Linked DNA regions of Homo sapiens: region 1 is linked to region 2. The links are contacts of gene promoters, found by promoter capture Hi-C in blood cells and fetal thymus (Javierre and others, 2016). All regions are on one chromosome and are shown on one strand. Each heading gives the region's core, a stretch centred on a gene start or on the middle of the fragment in contact. The rest is flanking DNA. Distances are from core to core; before and after follow the strand shown.

Region 1 (7,026 bases), core at 2,393-4,892, 400 kb before region 2:
CTCTCTTGAGCTTTATGCCTGGAGGGCTGAGCATAATGAAAATCCAAAGCCCCAAAGAGCAGTGATGGTCTCCTGGGTCTAGAAGACTTGGATGTGATGCTTTAAGAAGGGGTAAGATGGTTGTCTCAAACCTGGCCCTTTTGACAGACTGACATTAGCCAGGGCTGACAGCTCTAGGCCCTTTTGACAGAGTGACAGCAGCCAGGGCTGACAGCTCTAGTTTCCCCTATGGGTGTAACTGGGTCTGGTGGTGTGCGGCACCAAGAAGGGGCACTCAGGCCAGGCTCTTGGTGGGCTGGCAGAGAGGGTTGAGGCCAGCAAGGCTGGATCCCACCCAGCCCGTGCTGGGCTGCACTGTGCTGTGGTCTTGCAAAAGTCACTTAGTCCCCTCAGGGCCATGCTGTTGCCCTCTGAGGGGAACGCAATTAATGACTGCATGCTTGTTAAGTGCTTGACAGAGCTAAGAGGACCAGAGGGCTGCAGGGCTGGCTCAAGCAGGGTGACCTCAGGGTGTGCTCTCTCTAGCTCATTACTCCCTGGAGCTGGGCTAGGTTTTTTCCATTCCACTATATGAACTTCAGTCCAACTTAGACACTGCTATAGGAGAATTTGCCTCATGGAGGACTGAGAAGTGGCGATTTCACGGTGTGTGTGTGCGTGTGCGCTCGTGTGCAAGTCCAAGTTAAGGAGGTGTTCGGGAGGCATCAGGAAGGAAACCTTTCAAAGGTCAAAATGGCCAATCGCTTCCTTTTTTCTATGCCCACTAGCACTTCCCTGTTTTAAGGGTTCTAAAAATAAGGGTCCAGCTTCCTTGAGGCTAGTGAGGTTGGTTGGAAGGAAAAGAAAGAATGTATTGGGGGCAAAGACCTGAGGAAGAGGAGACCTCACAGGCCAGGAGAGGGTCTGAGCCTAACACCGGAGAAGATGGGACAGGACTCAGATCAGAGCCATCACTTTGCACAGCCAGATCCGATGTCAGAGCACTGTCATCCCCCTGCTGACCTCTGGTTTCTGGGGAGACAGGCTCTCATCTCTTCTGTAGCTTGGGGCTGATGCTGGGCCTTGGAGCAAGTCACTGAATAATTGAATTGGAGGAATCCTTGCTGATACAACCCTGATGAGTTTTTTTATTATTTTTATTTTTTGAGGCTGCTGGTGGCTAGAACTTTGTCTACAACAAATGGCTTTTTAATGTTTCCAGTGATTAAGAGATAATAGTCTTGGGAAGGACACTGTGGCAGGGATCAAAGGTCCTAAGGTCTGGTCTAGCTTCTGAATGATATCTGCACCTTTTAGGTCTTCTATTTAACCTCTTTTCCTTAATATCTTCACCAGCTTCTGTGCGTGGCAAGACCTGTCATGTGTCACGGGCCTTTCCAAAGACAAAATGAGATAACAGACAGAAAAGAACTTGGGAAAGTTAAAGATAGGATCAGGATGCAAGATGTGATTGGGGCATTATTGTGTTGGATTGCAAGAAGGGAGAGGAGGTGAGATGGTGGTTGAGGTGTCTGGCGAGGATTTACGTGTATTATTGGATTGTCCTTTTTTTTCTACTGAGAATATTTGAACAATGCCAAATTAAAGAGCAAGGCAGTGGCAGAAGGAAAGAGCTGGAATGAGCGCTTTTGACTTGGCTTTGGACAGTAAGCTGTGTTAGCTATGCCTCACTGCCCAAAGATAAAAGCAGCTCCAAGTTGGCTGCATGAGGAGTTGAGAAGCGGCATGTGGAGCCCATGAATTAAAGTATCTGGTTTCCCTGGCTTTTTCCAGCTTACCTGTTGGTTGACATTGGATCCTCTGAGAACACTTGGCCAACCCAACATCTCTGAAATGTAGCTGACTCTGGCGTGGGGGCTGCAGCTGCTTTCCCAGCCTTGGATAGACAGAAAGAGGAAAAACTGGAACCCACCTGGAGCTGAAGGGCTCTTATAGGTGGGCAGGGCAAGGAAGTCTCTAATCTACCTGCTGTGACTGTGCACCCACATAACACGCCCTTCTATCTGTGTTATTATACACTGTAAAAATTGCTCTTATGTGTATTAGATACCCCACAGCAGTCTTGTGAGGTAAAGCACACAACATATGCTTTGTTTTAAGATGAGACTGGAGGCTTAGAGGAGTTCAGGACGTGTCTAGAGTCACACAGTTGGTATGCAGGGACTGCATTGCCATAAGAGCCTCAGGCTAAACTGCAAGTCTCCTGAACTTTCCAGGCTACACGAGGTCCTGGTTCCAAAAAAAAAAAAAACAAAAAAAAAAATACCTTGATATGCTTTTTTTCTTTTTTTTTTTTTTTTTGAGACAGAGTTTCGTTCTTGTTGCCCAAGCTGGAGTGCAATGGCGTGATCTCAGCTCACTGCAACCTCTGCCTCCTAGGTGTCAAGTGATTCTCCTGCCTTAGCCTCCCAAGTAGCTAGGACTACAGGTATGTGCCATCATGCCCAGCTAATTTTGTATTTTTAGTAGGGACAGAGTTTTATCATGTTGGTCAGGCTGGTCTCGAACTCCTGACCTCAAGTGATCATCCCGCCTTGGCCTCCCAAAGTGCTGGGATTACAGGTGGGAGCCACCCTGCCCGGCCAGCCGATGTGCTTTTTTTAAAAAAACTTTTTTGAGTTATAACTCATGTACAATCAGCTAACCCTATTTAAAGATTGATACATTTTGACAACTGTACCTGTGTGATTACCTGCTACAAGACACAGTACGTTCACTGCCCCTAAAAGTTTCGTTTGTACCCCTTTGTGGTTAGTCCTCTCTCAACCCCCAACCCTGAGCAGCCACCAGTCGCTTTTTCTTTTCTTTTCTTTTTTTTTTTTTTGAGACAGTTTCACTCTTGTTGCCCAGGCAGGAGTGCAATGCTGCGATCTCAGCTCACTGCATGCAACCTCCGCCTCCCAGGTTCAAGTGATTCTCCTGCCTCAGCCTCCCAAGTAGCTGGGATTACAGGCATGCACCATCACGCCTGGCTAATTTTGTATTTTTAGTTGAGACAGGGTTTCTCCATGTTGGTCAGGCTGGTCTCGAACTCCTGACCTCAGGTGATCCGCCCGCCTCGGCCTCCCAAAGTGCTGGGATTACAGGCATGAGACACCACGCCCAGCCCAGTTGCTTTCTTTCACTGTACATTAGTTTGCATTTCCTAGATTTGCATGTAGGTCATACAGTGCATACCCTTGTACTTGGCTTCTTTCCTTCAGCATATTTTTTAGACTCATCCTGCATGTATCAATAGTTTATCTCTTTTAATTGCTGAGTAGACCTTCAGGTATTTGGATGTGCTAGTAGGGTAATTATAACCCCTTGCACACAGCTTCTATGAAAATTCCCTCTTACGCGCTAATGTCTTTTTTTTTTTTTTTTTTTTTTGAGATGGAGTCTCGCTCTGTTTCCCAGGCTGGAGTGCAGTGGCACAATCCCGGCTCACTGCAACCTCCGCCTCCCGTGTTCAAGCAATTCTCCTGCCTCAGCCTCCTGAGTTACTGGGACTACAGGCACATGCCGCCATGCCCAGCTAATTTTTTGTATTTTAATAGAGACATGATTTCACCATGTTGCCCAGGCTAGTCTCGAATTCCTGAGCTCAGGCAATCCGCCTGCTTTGGTCTCCCAAAGTGCTGGGATTACAGGCATAAGCCACCGCGCCTGGCCTTACGCCAGAATTTCTAATAATACCTTAAGTTTTTAGACCATGTTCGAGCTTACAAAGCAGAGTCACATACATAATCACTATTAAGTCTCAGACATTGATAATTTAATGAGGAAACTGAGGTTTGGAAGATTAAGTACTACAGAGATTGAAGAGTATCCTGCCTCACTGTTCTATCCTGTGGCTTTGATCACCACCTGCTCCCCACCCTCAGCTGCCTCAAAGTCCAGCTCCCTTTCAGGGAGTGGACAGTCATTCGCAGAGCTAAAGGCGTTGCTTTTCAGAGAGGCAGCCAACCTAGGGAATCCTGTGTCTCCCGCCAGCTTTGCTCCAGCTGATGATGATGTGGTGGTACTATCACTGCCTCCCCAATCCCAGCCGGCATAAGCCTGTGTAAGGGTATCTCCTTTCTTGGCCATCCAGAAGCTGAAGAGACCCCATCATTATCTGCCCCATCCATCCTGCCCTGATAGACAGAAGTCTGAACTTGTGGCAGCCTGGCTTTGAATTCCAGCTCTGCCTCTTACCAGCTGAGGGACTGACCTTGGGCAAGTTGCTGAACATGCTAAGCCTCAATTTTCCTGTCTGTACAATGCAGACAATAACAGCACTTGTCTTGAAGGACCTTTGTGAGAGAAGGGTGCCAAACCACGCAAACAGCTGGAGAGCGCCTGGCATTGGGCACACCCTCAGAAATGAGGTCGGTATTAGTGCTACTCAAGTGGTGATGTTACTCCACATGGCTCCCTCTGTGGTTTGGTTCCTTGGTCGCCTTCCACTTTTATGGTTCTCTGTTCCTCACTGAGCTTTGGGTATAAGGCTGTAAGATAGGGCAGAGGCCAGTGGATGCTTTCTCCCTGATAACTGCATTCTGCTCTCTGTGCTTCTCTCTCTAGAGTGCCCAGAGGGGTGCGGGGCCTGAGAAAAAGCAGACCCAGGGCAGAGAGAGCACCACCCAAGCTGCTGACTATAATAAATGGCAGGGGCTGGGGACTGGAAGGGGTACCATATGGTTGTCTTCTGATTACTTTCAAATGGAATCAGACTCAAGCCTAAGAGAGAGAGTGGGGAGAAAAAACCACACTCAAGAATGGATCCTCTCTGCAGGGTGACAGACTCAGCCAAGCAGAATGCAGAGCCATTGCCAGAAGAATGAGATGACTATGATCCTCATTGAACTGAACACTTTTGTCATTTTCATGGATGGATTCTCCCAGGGGCCACTTTCTATTTGCCCAAAGGCTTATGGAGAATCTGTGGTTTTTCTCTTTTCCCTGGAGGATGGGTGGGTAGATGTGGCAGTGATCGCAGTCCTCTGGACCCTCTGCCCGGGGCCCTCGGTATGTGATAGGTGATCCCTTTTCTTGTTTCATCTTGCTCACATCCCTGTTTTCCTGGTGACTTTGCAGTCATGCTCTTTGCCACTTACTATCTATGACGGTGAGGCCCATGGTGAAGTGTCCTAGATGAACATCCAGAAACTGTCTGAGCTCTTACTGTGCATGCAGCACCCTGCTAAATTCTGTGCAGTTCTCCGGAGGAAAAGGTAAATGTCAGGTTTTTCCCATCTGGCACTCTGAAGTCAACTGCTCTTTTGAGCTGGCTGCACGTTCTCCACAGTGACCCTCGGAGGGCAGGCCTGCCTTTTTTTTGAGACGGAGTCTCGCTCTGTCGCCCAGGCTGGAGTGCGGTGGCGCAATCTCAGCTCACTGCAAGCTCCGCCCCCCGGGTTCACTTCATTCTCCTGCCTCAGCCTCCCAAGTAGCTGGGACTACAGGCGCCCGCCAATACCAGCTAATTTTTTTGTATTTTTAGTAGAGACGGGGTTTCACCGTGTTAGCCAGGATGGTCTCCATCTCCTGACCTAGGCCTGCCTTTTTGAGGCCTGCTGGGATTACAGGTGTGAGCCACTGCGCCCGGCTCGTGTGTGTTTCACTCTGTCTCCCAGGCTACAGTGCAATAACACGATCCTAGCTCATTGCAGCCTCGAACACTTGGGCTCCAGTAATCCTCCTGCCTCAGCCTTCTGAACAGTGAGAACTACAGGTGTGCCCCACCACACCTGGATAATTTTAAAATTTATTTTATTTTTATTTTTGTAGAGATGGGGGTCTCACTACATTGCCCAGGCTTGTCTCAAACTCCTGGGCTCAAGTGATCCGTTCGCCTCAGCCTCCCACAAGTGCTGGGATTACAGGCATGAGCCCCTGCGCCCAGCCTGGACCAGTGTTTTTGGACAGCACGAGGATGCTCTCACTGCTTCATGGGTGTGCTTCTCTGTTCCAGAGCATTTGGCTTTTCTGTTCCTGTTTTTGTTTTGTTTTTCACAGTGCTTTATGGTCAAATTCTTCTCCTCTCCCTTTAAAGAAAACTCTTCAGGACTTGATATTTTAGAGAGTAAATAAACGGAAAGGAAGAAAGATATGAGGCAATTACAGTGGTGGGGAGCCGTTTACTAGTATGCAATAGTATAATTCTCAAATTGGTACAAAACAAAAACAAACAATTTGTTTTCTTGCAAAATACAACCAAAGTGCTGGTTAAATAAGAGGAAGGTAGTGCCTTGAGCCCAGCACCTGAGGCAAATAGATTGCTCAGGGGCACCTTTTAAATTAAAGGGACATCTTCCCTTCTGTGGAGTCACCAGCTGTTTGGGTGACACTTCCCGTTGTGCTCCCGGCCTCTGTGGAAGCATAAACATTCTTGTACATAAAGCAACTGTGGCAGTGAACTCCACCAGGACCAAGGCTGTTCTCGTGCAGAGTGGGAAGCTGAAAGAACCACCGCTGTAGCCTCTCATGGCAGTCTGGAAAATGCCAGGGGGAAGCCGACTGCACAGATGGCCAGAGGCAGCTGCATGCTCCCGATTTCTTTCAGGTTTTGTTGGGTGAACCTTCTTGGTGATTCAGGTAGCAGGATTGTTTAGAATCCTGCTTCCACGTTGATGGTGCGCCTTTCAAAAACATTTACAGAGAGCGTTCGCTCCCTAAGTGTTTATTCCTTTACCTTAGGAAGAAATCTGCCTCATGGCTGCTTTTGTGTACAGTCTATTTAGACACAGACATGTGGAACGATGCAGGGTCGCTGGAGTTCTCAACCATGGCATCTGCAGTTTCGTTTTTGTTTTTTTTTTCTTTTGTTTTTTGTTTTGTTTTTCGTTTTGAGACGGAGTCTCGCCCTGTCACCCAGGCTGGAGTGCAATGGCACGATCTCGGCTCACTGCAACCTCTGCCTCCCGGGTTCAAACAATTCTCCTGCCTCAGCCTCCTGAGTAGCTGGGATTACAGGCGCGCGCCTCCATGCTCAGCTGATTTTTGTATTTTTAGTAGAGACGGGGTTTCACCATGTTTGCCAGGCTGGTCTCGATCTCCTGA
Region 2 (6,566 bases), core at 151-2,650:
AATGTTTCATATCAGACTGGACAACAGCATCATCAAATCTGCGTCCAATCAGACGTTTGGCATCTGTAAAAGGTGTCAAATGAAAACACTTTCAATTTCATAGCTCTTCTGATAAAACTCAAGTCCATGATTACTCAAATACCTAACAGTTCATAGGTAGGTGAATTCAACTACCATATAGGTAGCAAAGGTTCAAACTTCAACCTCCTACGTTATCCAGATTTCAGCCTGAAAGGTTTCTACAACCTGTTTTATAACAGACTTGATAACAAGTCTCTCAGCTCAGTTTTTCTAAAATCAAAAAGTTCCCTCCTCACGTTTCATAAACTTTTGTGCTTCCTAGCCCTGTTATATTTGTTCTGTCATTTAAAATTAGGAACTCACCAAAAACTGTGTTGGTGGGGTTCATTGCAACTTGATTCTTTGCGGCATCACCGATCAACCGTTCAGTGTCCGTAAAGGCGACATAGCTTGGAGTGGTTCGGTTTCCCTGATCATTGGCAATTATCTCGACTTTTCCGTGCTGGAAAACACCCACACAAGAGTAGGTGGTGCCAAGATCAATACCAACTGCAGGTCCCTTGGACATGGTTGCTGAAAAAAAGAAAAATCTGGTTTAAAAATTCAATTAATCAAAATATTTCCCTCATCCCTTAACAGAACACTTAACCAGGAAAAACGTATGGCCACTGCCAAGAGGTAATAGTGCCCATCACCTCCTGTCTAAGCACGCGCGAGGTCCAGAACTAGTGCTGCAGTCCAGGTTGCCGTGCCAACCGCAGCAGAGCACGCCCTAGATGAAGGACCCATCTACCCAGACGGCGTGGGGCGTTGCTCAACACGTGGTCTTACCCCGAACTGAGCACTGTCTGTTCCCCTCCCTCGCCAGGTGCCAGTGCCCCCGGGAGTCAACGGGCTTTTAACTACTCCGGAATGTACCCCCATACTGGAAGCACGCCAAGAACAGCTCTGAAGAACCACGGTGGGACTGGACTAAGCAGGGAACTGGGTGAAAGAAAACGCTGGCTCCACTTCCCCGCGCGCCAGGCAAACCGATGCAGCAACCCTCCCCCGCCACGCGGCCGCCGGGCGTCTCCCAGCCTCCCCTGGGGCCACTGCGGCCCACTCCCTACATTTCCGTCCTGCCGGCTGCAACCAAATACCGCTGCCATCCCACCGAAAACTGAGGCCCTTTAAGCCGGTAGAAGGAGCCGCACACTCGCCTCGACGAGATTCTCAGAACCCCCAAGCCTCAGCAAGCCCAACAGGCCTGTGTGGAGGCTGCACGCTCCCAGACCCACAACCCAACTCTTGAGCAGAGGTTTTACCTGGGGTGTAGGCCTGGCTCCAATAACGAAGGAAGCCACAAAAAACCCAAGAGCTGCAGGCGAGTTCAATGAGACCGGTTTCCGCCCGCCACCCTGCCTCTTATACCCTATCTTAGAACCTTCCAGAAGGGGCCCGCCCCTGCTGCCTGCCATTACGGCTTCCCCGGCCAATAGACGCCCGGCTGCCCTTACAAGACCCAATCACAAGCCCGGCTCCACTCCTCGGGCCTCGCCCCCTTCCGCACCCACCCCACCGCGCTCCGCCTCACGATAACGCACTCACCGCAGCGTTCTGGAACTTTCAAGCTCGCCCCCGCTCTCCGGACGGCCCCGGGGAAAGGGAGGGTGGGGCGCAGCGAGTCCGCGCGCGGGAGTCCTCAGTTACCCCGGGCGGGGGAGGGGAGCGTCCACCTCTACGCATGCGCCCCCAGCTTCCGCGGGAGGGAGGGGGCGGAAAAAGGAGGAGGAAGAGGGGCGGGCAAACTTGGAACTAACCAATGATAGCGGCGCTAGCCGGGATCTTGGCCGGCACAGAACTGGGGGCGGAATCGCGCGGGGCCTGAAGGGAGGGGTTTGGGCGCGGGAGCCGGGCAGGAGAAGACGGAAGTGGAGCGAGGACAAAATGGCTGCGAAGGTTGTTGCTCCCCTCCCCCACCCACGTCCGAATCCTCCTTTCCATGCCCCACCTTCGTGTTCCAGACGGGCCTCTAAGTGCCCCGGGTTTCGCGAATCTGTATTTCATAGCGTGGCTTTGGACAAGGGCTGACCCCGAGGGGCTGGGGCGAAGGTTCCGGCTTCAGGGTGCCACTAGGGCTGCTCGCTCACGGCCCCCCAGGATTGGGATTGGAGGGAGCCGCCAGGCCGCCGCGGGGTGGGGCGGGTTAGCTCGGCAGGCCTCCCAGCACCTGCATTTCCCTACGGCAACTGTCGGGAGGCAGCCCCCGACGCAGAGGTTTAAGGGGCCCGGCTTTTCAGAACCGCCTCAGGACGCGGTCGTGTCTGGATCCCTCCGCGGAAAAGAAGGCGAAACCGCTTCTCTGAGCCCTGACCGTTAGGCCCCTTCCCACCTCCGTCTAGAACAGATTCGGCTTCTTGGCTCAGTCCTTCCCCAACTAGCCCAAGCCCTACATTTCCCCGTTGTTTATAAAATAAACAGGTTTAAATGGTGGCGAGTGTGTTCTTGGTTAGGTGAACCAGGCATTAGGAATCATAGGTTCCAGTAGCCGTGCGTCCTTGATTTAGACTTTCTGAACGTTTGTATTTTCAGTAACATGAGGTGATATCTTTCCTGGTTTGACTTTCATCAAAAATTAAACGACAGACCATACCGACGCTTTGAAAACGTGACTGAGCTGGTGCACAAAACAATGGTGCCTAGAATTTTGAATTGTGCAATGTTGTGCATGGCCGCGGATATGTGGGGCCTTGTGGTTCCAAGAGCCTGTCTCAGGTACCTTGAACACTCCCTGTATCCTTTCAAGCAGGCGAGGTAGCTGTTATTCCTATTTAGTAGATAAATAGGCACCGATGGGGGAAAAGATTTTTTAAGGCTACACCAAAAGAACTTTTAGTAGCAGGGCTGGAATTAGAAGGTCTCTAGACTGCGAAAAAGGCTGTCAGAAGAGCGAGGACATCTTGTCCTTGTCAAAGCCAGTAAAGGGTAGAGACAGACTCAAACATATGAAGAATTTCCTTTTCATATTTTCCTTTTGGGGAGGAATGTTGGCTTAGAGTTCATGGAGATATATTCTTAGCCTCTCCCACGTCCCAAGAATTTAATTTTATACAATGCTTTCACTACATACAAAATGCTTTCATTTGTCATTTAATCATCAACACAATTCTCTAAGGTGTGTATTATTCATCCCCATATCAGGGGAAAAATGCAGCTCAGAGATAATCATTTGTGGGAAGATAAGCAGCTGGGTAAGCTAGAATCAAATCTAGCTTTTTTTTGGTTCAAGATTTGTTTTATGTTTTTTGTTAGTTACGCTACAGTGTAATTTCCTTCCTGGAAATAAATTGAACTCAACTCCAGAAAGAGTTAAGATATGTACTGTGAGCCACTGTTTTCAGTTTCCTTTGGTATTTGGAACCCCCAGTCCCCCACGCTAACTGCTAGTAATGTTATCTGGAATCTTTCTTTTCACACCCCAGTGCCTAGAGTTTAACAAGCACAAATTTTAAACTACACCCTGTGCTGTATTTTGCGTTTTTGTAATTATTTTAATCATTGAATAGTGGAAAATAGAATTGGGGCGCACATCCACTTGTTTGGGATATCCCATCCAATAGCAGTGATAAAAGAAAGCAGAACAAATAACCTCTGTTTCTGGTTACTCTCAAAACGCGTTCTGGGACTTGGGCTATGTCTTATTAAATGGAATGATTTACCGTTTATATATTTAAAGCTCAGAATATGATAAAGGTCCTGTCTCCACCACTTCAAACGCACAGGGTTTCAAATGACACAGTTAAGATCTAAAATTAAAGTTTGGTTGCATGGGACTGCAGTGGAGCCTAGAGCCTAGGACTTCTGACTGGATAAAAGGATAATGATTTAACATTTTTGTGTGCCTACCACATGCCAGCCTTAACCTCATTTAATTCTCACCGTAAATCTAAGCGGTAGCAACTATTATGATCGTCATTTTGTAAATGGGGAAACTAAGGCACGACTCCGTCTCCCAAAAAAGACAGTCTCCCAATGGAGTCTCCCAGAAAAGATGGAGTCTCGCTCTGTCCCCCAGGCTGGAGTGCAGTGGCAGGAACTTGGCTCACTGCGACCTCCGCCTCCCAGGTTCAAGTGATTCCCCTGCCTCAGCCTCGCGAGTAGCTGAGACTACAGGTGCATGCCACCACGCCCGGCTAATTTTTCTATTTTAGTAGACGGGGTTTCACCATATTGGCCAGGCTGGTCTCAAACTCCTGTCCTCAGGTAATCCGCCTGCCTCGGCCTCCCAAAGTGCTGGGATTACAGGCATGAGCTACCACGCCTGGCCTGTTTTTTTTGTTTTTTTTTTTTATGTGGAGTCTATAACTGTCATCCAGGCTGGAGTGCAGTGCTGTGATCTTGGCTCACTGCAACCTCCGCCTCCTGGGTTCAAGCAATTCTCCTGCCTCAGCCTCCCAAGTAGCTGAGATTAGAGGCCCGCACCACCACCACGCCCCGCTAATTTTTGTTATTTTTAGTAGGGACGGGGTTTCACCATGTTGGTCAGACTGGTCTCAGGCCTCAAGTAATCTTCCCACCTCGGCCTCCCAAAGTGCTGGGATTACAGGAGTGAGCCGCCGTGCTGGCCTCAGTTTATGAAGAAATTATTTAATAGTTTTGTGGTATCAGTTGCTTCTGTTGAAAAGTCTCAACCAGCCTAGGCAAAATAGTGAGACCCCCATCTCTGAAAAAATGAGATGGGAGGATCGCTTGAGCTCAAGAGGTGGAGAATGCAGTGAGCCATGGTTGTGCCCCTGCACTCCAGCCTGAGTGACGGAGCAAAACCCTGTCTCAAAAAACAAAAAAAAATGAAAAAAATTTAAGGTTTAGAATTTAATTGGATAATTTGTGTTAGGATTATGTGGTGTACTGTTACTAAGTATGCATTTTTAAAAAATTAGTATTAAAGAATAGTAAACTTACAGTCCCTTGCTTTAAAAACTCAGATATTAAAAACAATCCTCCTGTGACCCGGTGACATGACTAAAAGATGCAATATATGTATGCCCTGATTGCCCAAATACTGGAGTGTATGTACTGCATTGCATCAGGGAAATTTGAAACCAGAATGATGTAAGCTGTTATTAATATTTTGATTTCTAACTGCAGCCATGTATAAATTATTGCAACTGGAGAACAGCATACATAAACATAGCCCCAATATCTTTTTCCTGCATTATGCTTTACCTTCCTAAACCAGATTATACGCTTTAGAACATTCTCATGCCTATTGTATTTCTGGTAGTAGAGCCCTTGCCATTGATGTTTTATTCAGTGCTTTATGCAGGGCACCATGCTAAGCATTTGACATATATTCTCTTACATGACCCTCACAACTATTTTTGGCAGATCATATTGTCCGCATTTTCAGGTAAAGAAATTGAGGTTCAAATAGGTCAAATAATTTGCTTAAGATCTCTAGCTGACCCTGAATTTTTCAAAATCAGATTTTATTCTACAGCTTATGCTTCTAACTCAGGCTAGGTTGCTTTCTACTTTCAAACTCTTAGTCATCTTGTTTAGCCCCTGCACTATGGAGAGGAGGTGCGGTATAAAATGCGCTCTTGGCCAGGCACTGTAATCCCAGCATTTTGGGAGGCCAAAGCTGGTAGATGGCTTGAGCCCAGGAGTTCAAGGCCAGCCTGGGCAACATAAGGAGACCCCATCTCTACAAAAAATACAAAAATTAGCTGGGCGTGTTGGCATGTGCCTGTAGTCCCAGGTACTCGGGAGGCTGAGGTGGGAAGATGGTTTGAGCCTGGGAGGTTGAGGCTGCAGTGAGCCGTGATTGTGCCACTGAGCTCCAGCCTGGGCGACAGAGTGAGAACCTGTCTCTTAAAGAAAAAAAAGGTGCTCCTTATTATTTTAATTTTTTTTTTTTAATCTGAGATGGAGTCTCACTGTCACCCAGTCTGGAGTGCAATGGTGCAATCTCAGCTCACTGCAGCCTCCCCCTCCTGGGTTCAAGCAGTTCTCCTGCCTCAGCCTCCTGAGTAGATGGGATTACAGGCGCACACCACCATGCCCGGCTAATTTTTTTAGCATTTTTAGTAGAGAGGGGTTTTCGCCATGTTGGTCAGTCTGGTCTCGAACTCCTGACCTCATGATCCACCCGCCTCGGCCTCCCAAAGTGCTGGGACTCAGGCGTGAGCCACTGCGCCCCGCCTATTTTAATTTAAAATTTTTTTCAGAGCAGCTTAATTTTTAATATTTATTTATTTATTTATTTATTTATTTTTTGAGATGGAGTTTCACTTTTGTCGCCCAGGCTGGAGTGCGATGGCGCAATCTCAGCTCACTGCAACCTCCGCCTCCCAGGTTTAAGCAATTCTCCTGCCTCAGCCTCCCAAGTAGCTGGGATTACAGGCATGTGCTACCATGCCCAGCTAATTTTTTCTATTTTTAGTAGGGATGGGGTTTCTCCATGTTGGTCAGGCTGGTCTCGAACTCCTGACCTCAGGTGATCCACCCGCCTCAGCCTCCCAAAGTGCTGGGATGACAGGCGTGAGCCACTGCACCCGGCT

The links. The method cuts DNA at HindIII sites, captures the fragments that hold promoters and counts their contacts. A CHiCAGO score of 5 or more calls a contact.
Region 1: a contact is called between a fragment that was not itself captured here and the fragment with the promoter of HSPA8 in region 2, in 1 of 17 cell types (neutrophils). The highest score is 5.4, in neutrophils.

Annotation. Positions count from the first base shown.
Region 1 is chr11:122,659,623-122,666,648 of GRCh38, forward strand. All of the region lies in intron 1 of UBASH3B (ubiquitin associated and SH3 domain containing B), which reads left to right. Among named protein-coding and RNA genes, the nearest start is that of UBASH3B, 7.4 kb to the left of the region's middle. The HindIII fragment of the contact is 7,294 bases long and covers 1-7,026 here.
Region 2 is chr11:123,060,736-123,067,301 of GRCh38, forward strand. HSPA8 (heat shock protein family A (Hsp70) member 8) reads right to left here and starts at 1,401. Exons shown (of 9, transcript NM_006597.6): 1 at 1,329-1,401; 2 at 385-594; 3 at 1-63. The coding sequence starts at 589. LOC124902775 (a long non-coding RNA gene) reads left to right here and starts at 1,927. Exons shown (of 2, transcript XR_007062927.1): 1 at 1,927-2,796. RefSeq lists enhancers at 1,150-1,319, 1,880-2,149 and a silencer at 1,470-1,859. The HindIII fragment of the contact is 24,952 bases long and covers 1-6,566 here.